Linked DNA regions of Homo sapiens: regions 1 and 3 are each linked to region 2. Evidence: promoter capture Hi-C in 16 types of primary human blood cells and fetal thymus (Javierre and others, 2016). All regions are on one chromosome and are shown on one strand. Each heading gives the region's core, a stretch centred on a gene start or on the middle of the fragment in contact. The rest is flanking DNA. Distances are from core to core; before and after follow the strand shown. Region 1 holds the start of SPAG5 (sperm associated antigen 5). Region 2 holds the start of NUFIP2 (nuclear FMR1 interacting protein 2). Region 3 holds the start of NEK8 (NIMA related kinase 8).

Region 1 (4,268 bases), core at 1,083-3,582, 700 kb before region 2:
CATAATAAATTCTATAAGCTCTATAGAGCTAATTTCCACCTAGTACTTATTTATTTTTCATCTTAAGCTGTACTGTCTAATATGATAGCCACTAGCCACATGTAGCTATTGAAATTAAAATTAAAAATTCAGGCCGGGCACAGTGGCTCACGCCTATAATCCCAGCACTTTGGAAGGCGGAGGCGGGCAGATCACCTGAGGTCAGGAGTTCGAGACCAGCCTGACCAACATGGAGAAACCCGTCTTTACTGAAAATACAAAAATTAGCTGGGTGTGGTGGCACATGCCGGAGGCTGAGACAGAAGAATCGCTTGAACCCGGGAGGCAGAGGTTGCGGTGAGCCGAGATCGCGCCATTGGACTCCAACCTGGGCAACAAGAGCGAAACTCCATCTCAAAAAAAAATTAATTAAATTAAATTAAATTAAATATTCAATTATTCAGGCCAGGCACAGTGGCTCACACCTGTAATCCCAGCACTTTGGGAGGCCGAGGCGGGCGGACCACTTGAGGTCAGGAGTTTGAGACCAGCCTGGCCAACATTGTGAAACCCTGTCTCTACTAAAAATACAAAAAATTAGCCAGGCGTGGTGGTGTGCACCTGTAATCCCAGTTACTCAGGAGCCTGAGGCAGGAGAATCGCTTGAGCCCTGGAGGCGGAGATTGCAGTGAGCCAAGATCACGCCACTGCACTCCAGCCTGGGTGACAGAGCAAGACTCCGTCTCAAAAACAAAAAAATTCAATTCTTCAGTCACCTCAGCCACGTTTTAAGTGCTCAATAACCATGTGACTAGTAGTTACCATGCTGGACAGCACAGATTATCAAATATTTCCCTCATCCCAGAAAGTTCTATTGGACAGTAGGTATTTTGCAACTCTTTCAAGAAAGACTGCTATGCTATCATCATACTTCTGTTACTCAGGATGTCATCTGTCTATACACTCTTCTTTCCTCCTCATACCTATTTTATTGATATCCCATCTCCTTCCAAAAATAATTCATATGCATGAAAATGAATAGATACGATTAATGAAATAACAAAGTCATGGTCAAAAAAGAGGAAGCAAAACTTCCTATACAGCTATAACAGTAGCTGTATGTGATGATCCAGTTTGGCCTTGAGCTTTCTAGAAGGCAGAGCAAGAGGGAAAATATGGTAAACTACATAGTTCTCATTATCAGAAAGAAAAGGATAGCAATTTCTTCAGGAAGACAATTTTTCCAGGCAGTTAGTCCTAAAGCCTTTCTTGGAGGAATCTTATACAGGAGTCAAGCTGCTTCCTTGACAAGTTTTGACAGCAACTGAAATGCAGTTTCTACATGGCTACGTCTCTCAAAACGTTTAACAAAAGTACAAATCAGTGAGGGCAATTCTGCAAGGAGCTAGTTTAAACTAAGGTGATTCAAGTACCCTACCTTCCAGTGGTGTAACTTGATCCCAGGAGAGTTCTAACTACCTCCTAGAGTAAATGGATATTGCCTCAATCTTGCAGGTGACTGACCTTTCCGTAAGTGACCCCATGTTGGAGGAAGAGCACTAATCAGGGTGGTAGGATTTCTCAATAGTTTGATAAAGGTCGAAGGGAGGAGGAGGAGGTAATAAAAACTAACAGCTAAACAGAGATTCAAGTTCTCACTGGATTTCCTTTAACCACCCTAGGGCACCTCTCTGTTGGCCTGAATAGCTGTAAATGGATGTCACCGACGTAGAAGACTTCATTATCGTTATTAATTATTGTAGCCCTGGCCCTCTGTTCCCCTGAGCTCTCACCCTGGGCAAACAGCCCAGTCGAGAAGCTGTCCAGGCGAATCTCACCTGCAGCCCCAGCTTGCACAGTGATGGGGTCAGCGAGGAGCAAGCGGGGGATCTTTTTCCAGAGTTGGTGAGGGCACCGGGCTGCAGGGTAAGTTCACGGAGAGGAGTTCTCATAGATGGTTTTCCCTGAGAAAGAAACCAAGAAAGAGGGCGAGTGTGAGGAAGCCTGGGTTCTGCCAGCCCGCCCCTCCTCCCTCCCTAAGAAGCCCAAAATGCGATTAGAAGAGTACGCTCGCACCCTAGTCGCGCAGGAGCAGCAAGGCGAACAAAGACTCCACAAGCCCCCAACCCCGGGCTCGACCCAACTTTCCAGGACAGTAGACACGGCCGGTGCCCCCGCGACAGCAGCCCGGCCCAGTTCTCTCCGCCAGAGATCTCCCGCTTACCGTCTGGGGCGAAGGCGACAGGCTGAGGCTCAGTTTTTTCACTCGCCACATCTTCAACCAGAAGGCAGGCCTATCACGTCTCAGACCAAGTCGAGGACGCCATGTTCACCCGCCGTCTGTGTTTGAACCTGCTCTGCGCTTCCTGGTTGGCTGCTTCAGGCGCGCGCGTACGCTCGGGGGTAGAGCCCGGGGGGCGGGGCCCGCGTTGACCACGCCCCCGGCCCTGCCTGCCCCTCCGTTGTCGAGCGTTTTCCGCTGACGGAGCCCTCACCTCAGACACCGGCGGTAGGGCTGGATGCGGGCCCGGCCCAGGACCGGTCTTCTGTCCTCACACCGGGGAGGACCACGCAGGTAGCTGGAGAGTCCAGGAGTCCATCCCTCCTGCTTCCAGCGGACCTCCTCACATCCATGGTGTTCATATCCAAGTTGTCTCCGTGGATGGAGAAGAGGAATCCTCTCCCTAGGTCTCCCTCAGTCCTCTCCAGCCGCAGCCTTGACGGGAAAGAGCCGGCCAGGGAGTCTAGAAGCCGAAGCGGTGCCGAGCGGCTTCCCTAGGCTTGGTGGGCCCGCGTCCGGGACGGCCCGGGCCGTGGTTCTCGACCTGGGCTGTAATGTCTCCAGAGTTTCTGGGCTTTTCCTGGGACTTACTCAGGCCGGCTACCAGTTTACTGGGCTAACCGCCTACATGTATTGAACATTGAGTGTGTGCCTGGCGCTATGCCGAATGCCGTGTAGTAGCTCATTTAATGCGCATAAGGACCTACGTAGTGAGAAATACTATAAATATCCCCATTTGTGACAGGAAGGAGCTGAGTCAGAGAGACCGTGTGTAATTTGCTCAGCGTCACACAGATAGTAAACGGCAGAGCCGCTCTTCCTCCCTGTCCCGCCAGCTCCTGCCTTCTGCTGTCTTGGATCTCCTATGCACGGGAAACCTGTTGAAGGTAGGACAGCCGAAAGGTCAGTATTCAGAGTGAGCCGTTTGCGAAGGTGTGTGTGCTTTGCACACTCACGGCGCCCTGTTTACACTCTGCAAGTCTTAATACATAGGGGGAAAGCAGCAGTCCAAAGAGGAGGAACTATGATGTTATAAACTGCAGCGTCCTCAGGGACGGGCTCCTCTAGCATTGTGTTGTCCAGTACGTTAGCCCTAGCCATAGTGGCTTTTGAGCACTTCAGATGTGACTAGTCCCAGTGGGAATGTGCTATAAATGTAAAACACTGTACAAACTGGATTTCAAACACGTCGTATGAAAAAAAGAATGCAAAATATCGCCAGGTGCGGTGGCTCATGCCTGTAATCCCAGCACGGAGGAGACAGAGGCAGGAGGATCCTTTAAGCCCAGGAGTTCGAGACCTGCCTCGGCAATATAGTGAGACCTATGTCTACAAAAAAAAAATTTGGGCCGGGCACGGTGGCTCACGCCTATAATCCCGCACTTCGGGAGGCCGAGGCAGGCGGATCACCTGAGGTCAGGAGTTCGAGACCAGCCTGCCCAACACGGCGAAACCCCGTTTCTACTAAAAATACAAAAATTAGCCAGGTGTGGTGGCACACGCCTGTAATCCCAGCTACTTGGGAGGCTGAGGCAGGAAGAATCTCTTGAACCTGGGAGGCGGAGGTTGCAGTGAGCTGAGATGGCACCACTACACTCCAGCCTGGGTGACAGAGCTAGACTCCGTCTCAAAAAAAAAAAAAAGTTAAGCCAGGGGTGGCAGGGTTGGGGGCACACACCTATAATCCCAGCTTGGGAGGATCGCTTGAACCTAGTTCAAGGCTGCTGTGAGCTATGATCATCCCACTGCACTCTAGCCTGGGCGACAAAGCAAGACCTTGTCTCAAAAAAAAAAAAAAATATATATATATATATTTTTTTTTTTTAATACTGTTTACATATTGAAATATTTTAGGAATATTGGGTTAAATAAAATACATTAAAATTAATTTTCTTTTGAGACAGGGTCTTGCTTTATCACCCAGGCAGGAGTGCAGTGGTGCAATCATGGCTCACTGCAGCCTTGAACTCCTAGGTTCAAGCAATCCTCCTGCCTCAGCCTCCTGAGT
Region 2 (3,975 bases), core at 1,266-3,765:
AGTCTGGCAAGAGTATATTAACCTGACCGATGAGATACAATTTTTCAATCTCAACAGTAATATTGCCTTATGCAGCCATAATATGGTAGTATTTTCTCATCTTTTGAACAAGATCTAATGCTAAAAAATCTAGTTATATAGTCCCTAACAGTTTTTAAACTGTTCCAAATCTTTAGGATTAAAACACCTAACTCGTGCGTATGTGTTCACTTCTATTGCATACTATCGGGTCCCTACGAAGTCCCAAAATGGAAAATCTGACATTCTAATTTCAGTCTTCAAGTTACAATCTGCAATAAAAAAGCACTTAGTATTTCTCCAGCTCTCAACAATTCCTTCTATCAAATTTGATACGCTGGGTTTAACATACGCTTTCTTACGCTTCATTTCTCTTCGATTTATAAAGAGCCCTTATTTTTTAAAATCTGCGTGGGTTATAAACTATTAAACTCACTTCTCGTGAAATACTTTCTTACATGACTTTTACCCTCAATTTCTCGTTTATTAAGATTAGTTTGGGGATCAATATCGATTTTAAAATACGAAAAACACCTTTCTTTTTAACACGGAGAGAAGCCTCATCCGAGGCAAGATGGTAGTAGTCTAACCTCATGGATGAGCCACTTGGGTTCACCCTTAAGGACAAGAAAGAGGGGTCAAAAAGCTCGCACTCTTCCCCATCCTAACATTTTTTAAAATCCCTCACCTCAAAGACACTACCCAAGCTCAGAAGGTAAGTGCTGGGTCGGGAGGGGAATGGAACAAGGTTTTTGGATTTTTTTTTTTTTTTTGTAGAAAATGAGCTGCTAGAAGGAAAAGGCCCAAGTGAAAGCCTCAGAGGCGGAGTCGTGAGCGAACCTGGCAGGAGACGAGGTTCCTGTGGCAGAGAAACTCGTGACCGGGGAGCTGGGTTCCCGCTGGGTACCCCACCCGGCCTCAGGCACCGCCTCTACCCGAAATGAATCCCCCCGCCGCCCCCCCAGGCCTCCTGCCTCTAGGAGCGCCGCGGCCGCCGCCCGCGGCCTCCTTCCCTCTCAGCTCCGCTTCGAGGCCGGCTCCCCGCCCCGACTGCCCGCGCCTCCCGCCGCACCCGGGAGCGGGAAACGCGGCCGCTGGCGCGCGGGGCCCTGCGCAGGCCGCTCCCCTCGTGGCCGCTTCCCTCCCCCACCCCAACCGCCCCCGCCCCTCACCCCAGGGACCCGCCCGGGGCCGCGCGCCGCCACCGGGTTACACAACCCCGGCCGGCGACGGGGGGGGGGGCGGCCGCGGTGCGGGGGGCGCCGGCGCCCCCGCAGTGCAGGGGGCGAGGCTGCGGCCGGTGGTGATCCCGGGTCACCCGGCTCCGCCGCCCCGTGTGGCCCTCGACACCCTTCCCCCTCCGCTCCTCAGTGGGCCGGAGTCGGTGACAGGAATCGGCTTCCAACATGGCGGACAGGAAGCGGCCCCGCGAGGAGGAGAGAACATTCCAGCCGCGCCGGCTCTGGGGGGAGCGGGCGCGGGGCGCCGGCCTCGGGAGGAGCCGCGGGACAAGACTGCGGGGTCCGGCGCCCAAAAAGGGCGTTTAGTGGTGGAAATGACCCGTGAGATGAGGGGTCCCAACAGCCCCCCCCACCGAGACGGGGAGCCCCAAGGCCACAGGTGGGCTTGGGGTGGCGGGTGAGGGGCACTTCCTCAACTCACCCTACCTACCCACTCCTCGCCGCCTGCAAAAGGGTCTCGCGACACCATCCGAGTCGGGATTCGCTAGGCCTTCCTGAGTTACACCTCGAGGGATTTTTTGGGGGGGTAGGTTTACCCCATCTCAGGGCCCCCAAATTGAGGTAACTCCAGGGACGCAGGGAGGTGAATGGGAAAAGAATAATGAGGTTGGACTTGCAAGGCCGACCCAGCAGGTCTCCCTTCAGCCGGGGCCGGGGCCAGGAAGGTCACGCTGGCCTGGCTGGGCCTCTCCCATGCTGGAGGGAAGGAGAGGGCGCTGCAAACCCCATTGCTCAGCCCGAGCTCTAGAATGAAAGGGGCATCCCCAGAGCCGGAGGGGACACACACACACACACCCCGACCCCGTCCGCGCTTTTCGGATCCAGCCCCACCCCCATCTCTCCTGTCCTCCACCCCCAACCCCCTTCCCCCACCCGTCCTCCCTCCCAGACCTGTTTTCTTCTTCGGCGTTTCCTGGTGCTGCTGGAGGGTGTGTTTCTGCTCATGTTTCAGCGGCTTTGGCTGGGCCTTGGGGCTGCCCTCGGCTCCATGCTGCAGGTATTGGTGAGGCTGCTGGTGATGATGGTGGTGGTGGTGGTTGTGGCTGTGGTTGTAGAAATAATAATGGTGGTGGTGGTGCGGCTGCTGCTGCTGCTGCTGAGGGTGATGGTGCGGATGGTGGTGGCTGTGATGGTGCTGAGGCTGTGGCTGGCCGGGCTTCTCCTCCATTGAAAGCGGCTGGGACTCCCTGGCTGAGGCTGCGGGCTGCTGCACCGTCAGGATCTGAGACTGCTTCTCAGGGCTCACTCAGTATATCTGAGCGCGTCTCGCCAGCGCACTGGTTAACCGAGCGATTCTGCGAGATTGGCAGCCGCACTCCAACAATCAGGAGCCACGCTGTGCCGCAAGCCCCGCCCCCAGCTCAAATCCTCTTTCCTTCCCCTTCGCCGCTGCCGCCTGGCCAACGCCACTTACCCTGTGCAACCTCACAGGGCCGGGCCTTCAACGTCAGCACTATGGCTCTCTCTTCTGTCGCTTTCTCTCCTTCACCACGCAGTCTGTGAACAGCACTTTCTACACTCCTCGCCGGCAAGCAGGCTCGTGTCGAGGGTAGCAGATTCCACTGGCGATTCCACTGGTGCTGTGAGCCATCTGCTGGCTTTGCACCTCTTAGAATCTGGTGTTTTTTTGTTTTTTGTTTTGTTTTGTTTTTAATCCTTTTCCGGGTAACCAGAAAGGGAAGCTCAATTCCCTTAACCCCGAGACCACTAAAGGGGCAATACAAAAAGAGGAAATAAATACATTTTTAAGCATACAAGAGCTTCACAATCCAGTAGATCATTTTGTATTCTGGATTCATTTTGCTTTGTATTCATATGCTAATCTCTTCCTTTCCACGAAGGGATTATAGGGTTCCACAATGGGGTATCTGTGTAATTTTCTAAAAGGGCACAAAGGGTTTAAATCATTGTTTCTTTGTAGTTGGAGGCAAGGGAGAGCAGGAGGAATGAAAATTTACACTGAAGGTTTTTTTTTTTTTAATTAAACTCTGCAGGTGAGGTCAACTGTGGAACCAAAATAGGTTTTAGAATGAGAAGTTTCAAGAGCAAAGGAAGGGGAGAAAGAGCACTTAAAAGTTATTAAGTGGGTTTGTTTTTTTTTTTTTTGGCACTTATGGAAAAATTGAAATTAAAAGAAATATTCTGTAGCGTTTTGTAGTGTAGATTTAACTTATCCTGCATTACCACATCACAGTATATGATTTTCAAAAGCAAATGTTAGAGCCATGATAGTGGTTACTCAGGAAGGAAGAGGGTTGTGATGGGGAGGGACACAGGTTACTCTGATAATATTTCATTTTGGGGGCTAGGTGGTGATTACATATATTTGCTTAGTAATTATTTGTTAAACTGAATATACAGATAAAATGCACTTTTCCCAATGTATGTTATAGATTGGGGGATTTTTTTAATTGTAAAATATTCATAATATAAAATTTACCATCTTAATATTAAGTGTATGGTTCAGGTGCATTAGGTACATTCGTATTGTTGTAGAACCATGACCATCATCTATCTCCAGAACTTTTTCATCATTCCAAACTGAAACTTCATACCCAATAAAAATAAATGTCCTTTCCCTCCTCCTTCCATCCCTTGATAACCACTGTTCTGTTTTCTGTCTCTACGAACTTGACTATTCTAGGTACCTCATATAAGTGGGATTGTACTGTATTTGTCTTTTTGTGACTAGCTTTTTTGCATAATGTCTTCAGAG
Region 3 (4,326 bases), core at 711-3,210, 570 kb before region 2:
CTCTTAAACTCCTGGGGCCGGGCGGCTGTCACAGTCCTCCCTCAGACAGTCCCGGCCCTCGGCCCGGCTCCCCGGAGGCTGGGCAAGCAAGACCTCCGATTTGCCGGGACAGCTGGAGTGACCCGCGCTCTCCAAGCCGGTAGCTTGCAGCAGTTGCGGCTCCTAGCCACTAGGTGTCAGCCTGCCCTCACTGTGGCGCGGGCTCCCCCTCCCGCCTCCGAGCGAGGCAGCTGCTTTCGGGGAGAGTTTAGGTATAAACTCTGGGCGAAAGGAGGAGCAGCTGAGAGCCAGCGAGGGAAGTTAAGCGGAGATGAGAGCGGGGAGGGAGAAGAGGGTAGTAATAGAGGAGGGGCGGGAAGAAGCGGGGGAGGGGAAAGGTGCTGCGGGCGGGAGGAAGAAGCCGAGAAAACCTGAGGCGCAAGGACCCAGGGACCAAGCCGTTTGAGTGTTTTCCTCCCCTATGGCTCCAAGGTTACACATTAACCCCTGTGGGACTCTTAAGTCAACCAAAGCCCAGTCGGTTTCTAGGTGAGAACACGGGTGTCCTGGGTGAGCGGCTTTCCCGCCCCTCCCCTTGGCTCACAGAGCTGCTCTGTCCGCCGGCCGACACCGGCCTGAGCCAGCGCCCTTCCAGCAGTCATTCCACGTGGGTGGGTTTGGATACCCTTGCGAGAGCCAGGACAGGGGCAGAAGATAAAACGCCCCTTTCCTCACACCCCTTGCCCACTCTGATACAGGGACGCTAACCTTCAGCTAGTGACCATCCTCCTCCTGAATACTGATGTTTTCTTTCTTTCTTTTTTTTTTTTTGAGATGGAGGCTCACTCTATCGCCCAGGCTGGAGTGCAATGGCACGATCTCGGCTCACTGCAACCTCCGCCTCCCAGATTCAAGCGATTCTCCTGCCTCAGCCTCCCGAGTAGCTGGGATTACAAGCGCGCGCCACCGTGCCCAACTAATTTTTGTATTTTTAGTAGAGACGAGGTTTTACCATGTTGGCCAGGTTGGTCTCAAACTCCTGACCTCAGGTGATCCGCCCGCCTCGGCCTCCCCAAAGTGCTGGAATTACAGGCGTGAGCCACCGCGCCTGGCCGAATACTGAGTTTTTCTAGAGCTCCCGCAGAGCAGGAGCCCGGGAGAACCTGGAATTAACCTCACTTCCGGTAAAGAGCCTAGCTGGTCACACTAACCAGCCCCCTGCCTCTAGGCTTTTGCCTTGAGCTCATTTCGGCGAAACCGCGGTCTTTCCTTCTCCCCTTGATGCTTTCAGGTACTGACCCACTACCGCCCCCATCTTCCCCCATGGGAAGATGAGCACTGAGGGCAGATTACCCTCCTGCAGCGCGTGTGTGAAAGGGGAGTTGAGAGTGCTGACGAGCGCGGCGCTCACTAGTCGGGACGGCCCGAGACCGTGTCATGTCCTCTTCAGGTGAATCAACTTGCACGACTTGGGATTTCCCCCGTCCCTCCCCAGGCAAACACGAAACCAACCCTGCTGCCTTCTCCCAGGAGCGCTGGTCTCGGTCGTTTTGGGTGTGTTTATCGTTTGCGTGCCAAGGAGAACCCGCTTTCTCCTGAAATAGCGTCACTCGTGGGCAAGAAGGGGGTCAATCTTCTCTTCCCACCCCTTCCCGGCCTGTGGGGTTTAACTCTCGGGAACGCGACATCCTTTTAGTCTAGCAAGCTTTACAAGGGCTGGGTATATGTGTGGGAGGGGCGGGTACCGTGCCCGCCATTGCGGGCGCGCCCTATTTTCTTGCCCTATTCTTGGACACTGCGTGGGGCAGGGTCGTGAGGGGAAAAGTGACGGCGTGTCGCAGCGGGAGGTGTGTGGTGCAGGCCCACAAATACGGACGCGTGGCGGAACCCACACCTAGGGCGCTGGCTCCGCCCCGCAAGCCGCTCGCCGTGAAGGGGCGGGGCCCAGAGTGGGTGGGTCCGCGCACGCGCCGCGTGGGGGACGGAAGTGAAACTCTAAGAAATGAGATGGAGAAGTACGAGCGGATCCGAGTGGTGGGGAGAGGTGCCTTCGGGTGAGCCAGGGCTCTGGGGGAGGAAACTGCTAGGGGATAGGGAAAATAAGCCCCAATTCCGCCCGCGAAGTCGCCGCCCGCCTAATCCCGCCCCAAGGCGTGAGCGCCACTCTGGGAAGCCCCGCCCAAGCTTCCGGTCCCAGTCCCCCGGGGAGACTCCGCCTCTACGGAGGCCACGCCCCTGACAGGCCCATTGCTCCGCCCACTGAGTTATGTTAGCTTCTTTATTCATTCGTTCAACAAATACTGAGTGCCAGCTATGTATGTCAGGCTTTGGCCGCTGGGTATATAGTTAGAACCGGAACGGGCGTGGTCTTTTCCCTCTTGGAACTTACTGACTGTGGGAAAGTTATACAATAAACAAAACATTATGAAGTAAGAAGTTATAGCAGTTATGAAGTGTTATTAGCAGGTTGTGAGGATAGAGTACATTACCAGTGAGAATACTTATATGAGATGGTCAAGGAAGAATTCTCTGAGAAGGGAGATTGCTTGCTTGCTTGATTGATTTTTAAGACAGAGTCTCCCTCTGTCACCCCGGCTGGAGTTCAGTGGCACGATCTTGGCACACTGCAACCACCACCTCCTGGGTTCAAGCAATCGTTGTGCCTCAGCCTCCCGAGTAGCTAGGATTACAGGCGTGCGCCACCATGCCCGGCTAAATTTTTTGGATTTTTTTTTTTTTTTTTTTTTTTTGAGGCAGTCTCACTCTGTCGCAGTGGCGCGATCTCGAGTGCAGTGGCACTATCTCAGCTCACTGCAACCTCTGCCTCCCTGGTTCAAGCGCTTCTCCTGCCTCAGCCTCCCGAGTAGCTGGGACTACAGGCACGCGCCACCATGCCCAGCTAATATTTTTTGTGTTTTTAGTACAGATGGGGTTTCGCCATGTTGGCCAGGCTGGTCTCAAATTCCTGACCTCAGGTGATCCGCCCGCGCCGGCCTCCCTAAGTGCTGGAATTACAGGCGTGAGCCACCGCGACAGGCCAGAAGTGAGATTTAAGGCCAAGACTTGAGGAATGAGGACCAGTAGTCTGCAGGTGAAGGGAGAACTTTTCAGGCAAAGGAAATAGCGTATGTGAAATGTCTCACATGGGAAAACAGAGCATTCAAGAAACCGAGAAAGACTAGTAATAGTTGGAATGTAGTGGGCAAGGTAGAGAATGGTATAAAATGTAATTGTCGAGGGCGGGGACTAGATTATGGCCTGATAACCTGAGATAAAAGGTTCATTTGCCACAAACGGTTTTGTTTTGTTTTTGTTTTTGTTTTTGAGACGGAGTCTTGCACTGTCGCTCAGGCTGGAGTGTAGTGGCAATCTCAGTTCACTGCAATCTCCGCCTCCCGGGTTCACGCAATTCTCCTGCCTCAGCATCCTGAGTAGCTGGGACTACAGGCACACGCCACAACAACCGGCTAATTTTTTTTTTTTTTTTTTTTTTTTTTTTGTGAGACAGAGTCTCCTCTGTTGCCCAGGCTGGAGTGCAATGGCACCATCTTGGCTTACTGCAAGCCCCGCCTCCCGGGTTCAAGCAATTCTCCTGCCTCAGCCTTACAGGCGTGTGCCACCATGCCTGGCTAATTTTTTGTATTTTTAGTAGAGACAGGGTTTCACCATGTTGGCCAGCCTGGTCTCGAACTCCTGACCTCAGGCGATCCACCTGCTTCTGCCTCCCAAAGTGTTGGGATTACAGGCGTGAGCCACCACTCCCAGCCACCAGGAAGGGTTTTAAAGAGGAAGAGTGATCCTGAGACTTGGCAGAGTTTTCTGAAAAGGGGCAGGGTGCAGTGGCTCACGCCTATAATCCTAGCACTTTGGGAGGCCGAGATGGGCAATTGCTTGAGCTTAGGAGTTAGAGACCAGCCTGGGCAACACAATGAGTCCCCCTGTCTACAAAAAAATAAAAAAATTAGCCAGGTATGGTGGCATTGGCATGTGCCTGTAGTCCCAACTACTCAGGAGGCTGAGGTGGGAGGATCACTTGAGCATGGGAGGTGGAGGCTGTAGTAAGCTGAGATGAGACCCCTGCACTTCAACTTGGTTGACAGAGTGAGAACCTATCTAAAAAAAGAAATAATACAAGAAAAAAAGAAAGAAAGGAAAGAAAGAAGGGGCCGGGCACGGTGGCTCAGGCCTGTAATTCTAGCACTTTGGGAGGCCGAGGTGGTTGGATCACCTGAGGTCAAGAGTTCGAGACCAGCCTGGCCAACACAGTGAAACCCCATCTCTACTAAAAATACAAAATTTAGCTGGGTGTTGTGACGGCTACTTGGGAGGCTGAGTCAGGAGAATCGC

Evidence for each region. Contacts are between HindIII fragments. The CHiCAGO score rates a contact against its expected background, and 5 or more counts as called.
Region 1: the fragment with the promoter of SPAG5 here is called in contact with the fragment with the promoter of NUFIP2 in region 2 in 1 of 17 cell types (naive CD8 T cells); the score reaches 5.9 in naive CD8 T cells.
Region 3: a contact is called between the fragment with the promoter of NEK8 here and the fragment with the promoter of NUFIP2 in region 2, in 1 of 17 cell types (naive CD4 T cells). The highest score is 6.7, in naive CD4 T cells.

Annotation. Positions count from the first base shown.
Region 1 is chr17:28,596,693-28,600,960 of GRCh38, forward strand. SPAG5 (sperm associated antigen 5) reads right to left here and starts at 2,333. Exons shown (of 24, transcript NM_006461.4): 1 at 2,204-2,333; 2 at 1,818-1,943. The coding sequence starts at 2,254. SPAG5-AS1 (SPAG5 antisense RNA 1) reads left to right here and starts at 2,441. Exons shown (of 3, transcript NR_040012.1): 1 at 2,441-2,554; 2 at 3,006-3,163. RefSeq lists enhancers at 1,995-2,539, 2,764-2,843 and a silencer at 2,244-2,553. The HindIII fragment of the contact is 7,511 bases long and covers 1-4,268 here.
Region 2 is chr17:29,291,633-29,295,607 of GRCh38, forward strand. It overlaps NUFIP2 (nuclear FMR1 interacting protein 2), which reads right to left and starts at 2,516. Exons shown (of 4, transcript NM_020772.3): 1 at 2,151-2,516. The coding sequence starts at 2,427. RefSeq lists silencers at 1,185-1,364, 1,995-2,114 and enhancers at 1,821-2,581, 2,275-2,374, 2,685-2,884. The HindIII fragment of the contact is 5,437 bases long and covers 1-3,975 here.
Region 3 is chr17:28,726,828-28,731,153 of GRCh38, forward strand. It overlaps NEK8 (NIMA related kinase 8), which reads left to right and starts at 1,961. Exons shown (of 15, transcript NM_178170.3): 1 at 1,961-2,033. The coding sequence starts at 1,987. It also overlaps a transcript of TLCD1 not described here. RefSeq lists enhancers at 1-389, 1,114-1,837, 1,365-1,804, 1,838-2,561. The HindIII fragment of the contact is 479 bases long and covers 1,683-2,161 here.